Linked DNA regions of Homo sapiens: region 2 is linked to region 1. Evidence: promoter capture Hi-C in human tissues and cell types (Jung and others, 2019). All regions are on one chromosome and are shown on one strand. Each heading gives the region's core, a stretch centred on a gene start or on the middle of the fragment in contact. The rest is flanking DNA. Distances are from core to core; before and after follow the strand shown. Region 1 holds the start of KBTBD11 (kelch repeat and BTB domain containing 11). Region 2 has its middle 23 kb from the start of CLN8.

Region 1 (2,700 bases), core at 44-2,543:
GGAACCGCGGGGAATCGGGCGAACTTCTCACTCAGGGCCTGAGGGGATGGCTGGAACTTTAAAATCTGACGGCGGCGCCTTTCGTGGGCTGAGTAGAATAAAGCTCGCTGCACTGATTTGTTCCTTTTCTTTTCCTTAGAATAGACACTGGAGTGGGTGGAGGGGGAAACGTGGTTTTGTAGGACTCTAAAGAGGTGGAGGGACTTTGGTTCACCCTCTTTTCATGCTCCAGAATGAGCCCCGCCTGAGAGGAGGGACCCCTGCGGAATCCCGCCCAGACCGCCCGGGGGTCTCCCCAGCACATGGGGCGGGGGCTGCAAGGGGCGCCCGGCAGGACTCGGGAGCCGCGGCGCGGTGGGGCGGGTGGGTCGCGGTGCTCGGGGCTCGCGGGGGTCAGCAGCCAGGACACCCCCGCACCCCGGGCGCAGCGGCGGAGGACCAAGGGCCGCGCTCCCCTCCCCAGGGCCCCGAGTCCAGGAGAGACCCCCGTTCGCTCCGGACAGCCGATCCCCGCGACCGCCGAGAGCCAAGCGGAGCAACCCCGGGAGGAGCCCCCGCCCTGGCCCCGCGCGCTTGGCTTCGGCTTCTGCTCCTGCTTCCGTGCCGGCTGGGGCGGCGGGACCCTCGGCGGGGGCGGTGACTGCGGGCGCGGCGCGGGCGGCTCATTGTCTTCCGGCCGGGGTTGCCGCGTCCCGGGGGAGGGCCTGTGGAGACCCCGCGAGGAGGCCCCCACGCCCCCCACGCGGCCTCCCGGAGGCGGAGCGGAGACCACCCACCGCCGCCCACCCCGCCGCGGGCAGCGCTGCCCCCTCCTCTCCCGGTCCCCCCTCCCCTCCCCTCCGCTCCGCTCCCCTCCCTCCCCTGCCGGCCTCCCCTCCCCGCCTCTCCCCTGCCGGCCTCCCCTTTTCTCCCCTCCCGCCTACTGCCGCTCTCGCCGACCACCTCCCACCCGCCGCCCCCTCCGACCCGCGCCTCGGGCTGCTTCCCGCTCCGCCCGCCAGGCCCCGCCGCTGCCTCCCCGGGGTCCGCCCTACCTCGCCGCGGCTCCTCTTCAGCCGCCGGGCCCGGGACGCGCAGCCAGGCGGGTGGGCTCCGGCGCATGCGCGCGGCCGCTTCCCGGCACCTGTGGGAGCCGCGGCCCGGCCTCTCCGAGCACCTGCGAGCGGGAGCTGCTCCTCCGACCCGCAGCGGGGCGTGGGCGGCAGAGGGGGCGGTGGACAGGCCTCTCCGCCTCTCCAGGCCGCGCGGAGCCAGCGCTCCGGCTCCAGGCTGCGAGGGGCGCGCGCGGGGCGCGGGGAGGGGGGCGGGCGCGTGCACACGGGGCGTTTTCGGGCGCGCGCCCCCTGGCTGGGTCTGCGGAGGGGCTGTGGGTTCCCCGGGGCTTCCCTGCCCCGCGCCTGCCCGCCGGGCGCTTCTCCCCCTCCAGGACCGCGGCCCACGTCGCCACTCGAGCCCGAGCCCGAGCCCGCGCCCACGCGCGGGGGCCGCTTCCTGCGAGGAGGCGGGGACAGGTGTCCGCGGGCGCAAACAGCGGAGTTTCGTGCGCCTATTTTTTGGTAAAAGTAGAGGCGATGCGTTGTTGACATATTTAGTGGTTAAAAACTTATTGCCAAATTCTCAACAGATTCCAGAATTTTTTAAAGTTCACAACACGAGAGTGGACGAAATGTCGGAGCTTTTGCTCATATCCAGAAATGTGGCCTCTGCCTCCCACTCGGGCCCTGCGGTGCAGACGGGTTCAGGGCGGCGAGGACTGAGCCAGGAGCGCCGAGAGTTCCAGCTGCTCCCAGGCTGGGTTCTAATTAACGCTGGACCCCTGCTGGTAAATGCTATTTTTAATGGCTTTGTGCAAATTAATGACGATGAGATTTCCATAAGTACCGAGAGCCAGAGCCTTTACTTTCTCTTTTTGTGTTCTTTTTGCTTGTGACAGTCTTTGCCAGTTCCATGCTGTATACACATAATGAGCCGTTACAACTCCAGCACCAAAGCTAACGCCCCGGGAACATCTTTAAAACCTTTTTCACTCTGTTGCCAAGAAGAGTAGTACCTGCTGTCAGTACTTGAATTACAGGAGGCTGAAACTCAGCGAGCTACTGGGATTTTTTGAAAATTGAAAACTTCCGTTAACTATAGCAGAAACAGACCCTTTTGGTGGAAGCTAAAATAATTCCCATGCTGCTCCGTTTTTATTTTGTTCAGTTTACTCCAAAAATGTTCCAAACTCTACTGTGATCTTCTTAGTGCATCTCTACTTCCTTTCGGCTGCAGAATAATACTTCTTTTTCTCTTTTGTTTTTTTTTAGAGATGGAGTCTCACTCTGTCGCCCAGGCTGGAATGCAGTGGTGCAATCTCGGCTCACTGCGATCTCTGCGTCCTGGGTTCAAGCAATTCTCCTGCCTCAGCCTCCCAAGTAGCTGTGACTACAGGCATGCACCACCACACCCAGCTAAATTTTGTATTTTTAGTAGAGACAGGGTTTCACTGTACATTGGCCAGGCTGGTCTCGATCTCCTGACCTCAAGTGATCCACCTGTCTTGGCCTCCCAAAGTGCTGGGATTACAGGCATGAGCCACCGCGCCTGGCCTAACTACCCCCATTCTTTTCCAGAGAAACGTGAACAGGCCAAACAAAGCCTCACCTGGCTATCCCGCCACCCTGGGGTTGGGCCTCCAAAGGCCCGGGAGGTCACCTAAGA
Region 2 (2,910 bases), core at 187-2,686, 230 kb after region 1:
CCCACACCAACACCAGACCACAGCCTTGACCCCTGAGTTTAGAGCATGCAAGAAATTCCTACAAATCAATTAGAAAAAACAAGCGATTTAAATAGAGAAATGGGCAAAAGACCTGAACAAGCACTGTACCAAAGAAAAGATCAAAATGGCTACTCAACGGATGCTCCCCTGTGTTATTCATCAGTGGCTGCTGCTTACAACCACAGTGAGATATCACTACATAGCCGCCAGGACAGCAAAGTCAGGAAAGAGGAGCAGGAATCAGTGTGGATACAGAGAAACTGAACTCAGACACTGTTGGTGGGAACTGAACTCACACACTGCTGAGGAGAACTGAACTCACTCACACACCATGGGGGGACTGAACTCACTCACACAGCACTGAGGGGACTGAACTCACACACCACGGCGGGGCCTGAACTCACTCACACACTACTGTGTGGAAACTGAACTCACTTGCGCACCCCTGGGGGGAAGTAACATTTTTGCATTGACCCTGGACCAATAACCACTGAAACTGAACTGAAGCTTCCATGGCGACACTGTGATTCCCCACGACCAGCAGAAATGCAAACATATTGCACACAAGGTCATGCACAAGAATGTTGACAGGATCACTGTTTGTGTGTTTATCTGAACCTTCACCTGCTCATGACAGATAAAGGTTATCATGTGAACGTGGGGAAGACATCGCCAAACACCCAGGGGAGGTTTCCCTGGGAGCAGACACCTCCTCCCCTCGCCGTCCTCTTTTACCTCCCGTTGCCGTCCTCTTTGAAATGCCCTGCAGCACGGTCAAGGGACTCTGCTGCTCTGCCAGTCCACTGTGTAGGTCTTCCTGCTTCTCCACTTTATTTCCACCAAATTATAAACTCTTGGAAACAAAGATTCTGCCATCACGCATTTCTTTATCACTCACAGCATCTGGATGTCCTCCACAACAGCAAGTGGCACCTGTCATATTTTGTTTTGTGTTTTTTGTTGTTGTTGTTTTGTTTTTTTTTGAGACGGAGTCTCGCTTTCTTGCCCAGGCTGGAGTGCAGTGGTGTGATCTCTGCTCATTGCAAGCTCCGCCTCTCGGGTTCAAGCGATTCTCCTGCCTCAGCCTCCCTAGTAGCTGGGACTACAGCTGCGTGCCACCACGCCTGGCTAATTTTTTGAATTTTTAGTAGAGACGGGGTTTCACAGTGTTAGACAGGATGGTCTTGATCTCCTGACCTCGTGATCCACCCGCCTCGGCCTCCCGAAAGTGCTGGGATTACAGGCATGAGCCAACGCGCCTGGCCACCTGTCACGTTTTACAGCTAAGGAAGCTGAGGTCACATGTCCAAGGAGTCAAGCATGGGACGTCTCTGTCCTTACCCAACGTGGGTCTCACCACCACTCCTTATTGACTCCACTCTGATCAGACTGTGCCTCTGATAACTCCCAGGACAGGCTCAGCCTTTTCAAGCTTCTGGGCCTTCACATTTGCTTTTGCCTCTCTACCTGGGTCTTTATTTCTTCTATTGTCCAAGGACCAAGTCCTCCTCATCCTTCAGGTCTCAACTCTGGCTGGGCTCCGAGGAGGAGCTACCACCTGGGACGCCACTACCTGTCGGGCCTGCCTCCCTCTCTTACTCGCTCATGTCCTTGCATTTCACTCATTGAATGATCTTAAACATTCATGATAGAATGATCTATCATGTCATAAAAATGACATGATAATTATTTTTATCTCTTTGTGGACTGTTTATTTTCTGTCCTGCCCTTCCCACCTCACAAGAATGGGAAGCCCCATGGTGGGCTGGGACATCATCTGTCTTATTCACACGTGATGTTAAAAGAGATTGTTTTCTTCCTAACGGTGATGAAGTTACACTGCACAGAGGATCTTCAGGGCAGTGAAGCTACTCTGCATGGCACTGTCATGGTGGATAAGAGTCAGTGTACATCTGTGCAGACCCAGAGGATGAACAACACCTAGAGCGAGCCCTCGTGTAAACCACGGACTCCAGGCAATGAAGACGTGTCCATGTGGGTTCACCAATGGTAACAAATGCACCACACTTGCTGGTGGGGGGTGGCTATGCGTGCAGGGGAGAGGGGACAGGCAGCGAATGGCAGGTGTCTGTACCTTCTGTGCATTTTACTGTGAGCCAAAAACTGCTCTAAAAAAATTGTCTACTTTTAAGTTCTGATGGGTTCTCTGGCTTCAGGGAGTTGCCATTTTGGATCCTGAAGAATAAAGAGATAGGCTCATTTGCATGAGGTAGGCAGAGTCAAGTTGGAGGTTGAACTACGTGCTGGGACTGAGGCCATCAGACTCTGGAGGGAGGAGGGGAGCATAGCTGCTGTCTTGCTGACAGCTTCATGGGGAAGCTGGGGTCTGAGTTAGGATGAGTGTCTTAGTCCATTTGTTTTGCTATCAAGGACTACCTGAAGCTGAGTAATTTATAAAGAAAAGAGGTGTGTTTGGCTCACCTCTCTGCAGCCTTCACAGGGAGCATGGTGCCAGCATCTGCGACTGGTGAGGCCTCCGAAATATTAGAAATTGGCCGGGCGCAGTGGCTCATGCCTGTAATCCTAGCACTTTGGGAGGTTGAGGGGGGCGGATCACCTGAGGTCAGGAGATCGAGACCAGCCTTCCCAACATTGGTGAAACCCCGCCTCTATTAAAAATACAAAAATTAGCTGGGCGTAATGGCAGGCACATGTAATCCCAGCTACTCGGGAGGCTGAGGCAGGAGAATCGCTTGAACCCAGAAGGCAGAGGTTGCAGTGATCCAAGATCACACCACTGCACTCCAGCTTGGGTGACAGAACTAGACTCCGTCTCAAAAAAAAAAAAAAAATGTGAGAAATCATTCTGCTCGTGGCGTCATGGCGGAATGGGAAGCGGAGCAGGCATCACATGCCAAGAGGAAAAAA

What was found. The method cuts DNA at HindIII sites, captures the fragments that hold promoters and counts their contacts. A contact is called where the count stands out against the background at its distance.
Region 2: a contact is called between a fragment that was not itself captured here and the fragment with the promoter of KBTBD11 in region 1, in 1 of the 25 tissues and cell types used here (spleen).

Annotation. Positions count from the first base shown.
Region 1 is chr8:1,972,270-1,974,969 of GRCh38, reverse strand. KBTBD11 (kelch repeat and BTB domain containing 11) reads right to left here and starts at 1,293. Exons shown (of 2, transcript NM_014867.3): 1 at 1,035-1,293. KBTBD11-AS1 (KBTBD11 antisense RNA 1) reads left to right here and starts at 1,625. Exons shown (of 3, transcript NR_136275.1): 1 at 1,625-1,822; 2 at 2,307-2,430; 3 at 2,613-2,700. The region is part of intron 2 of KBTBD11-OT1 (KBTBD11 overlapping transcript 1); the gene reads right to left. The HindIII fragment of the contact is 1,977 bases long and covers 1,039-2,700 here.
Region 2 is chr8:1,739,809-1,742,718 of GRCh38, reverse strand. No RefSeq gene overlaps it. Among named protein-coding and RNA genes, the nearest start is that of CLN8, 23 kb to the left of the region's middle. The HindIII fragment of the contact is 5,059 bases long and covers 1-2,910 here.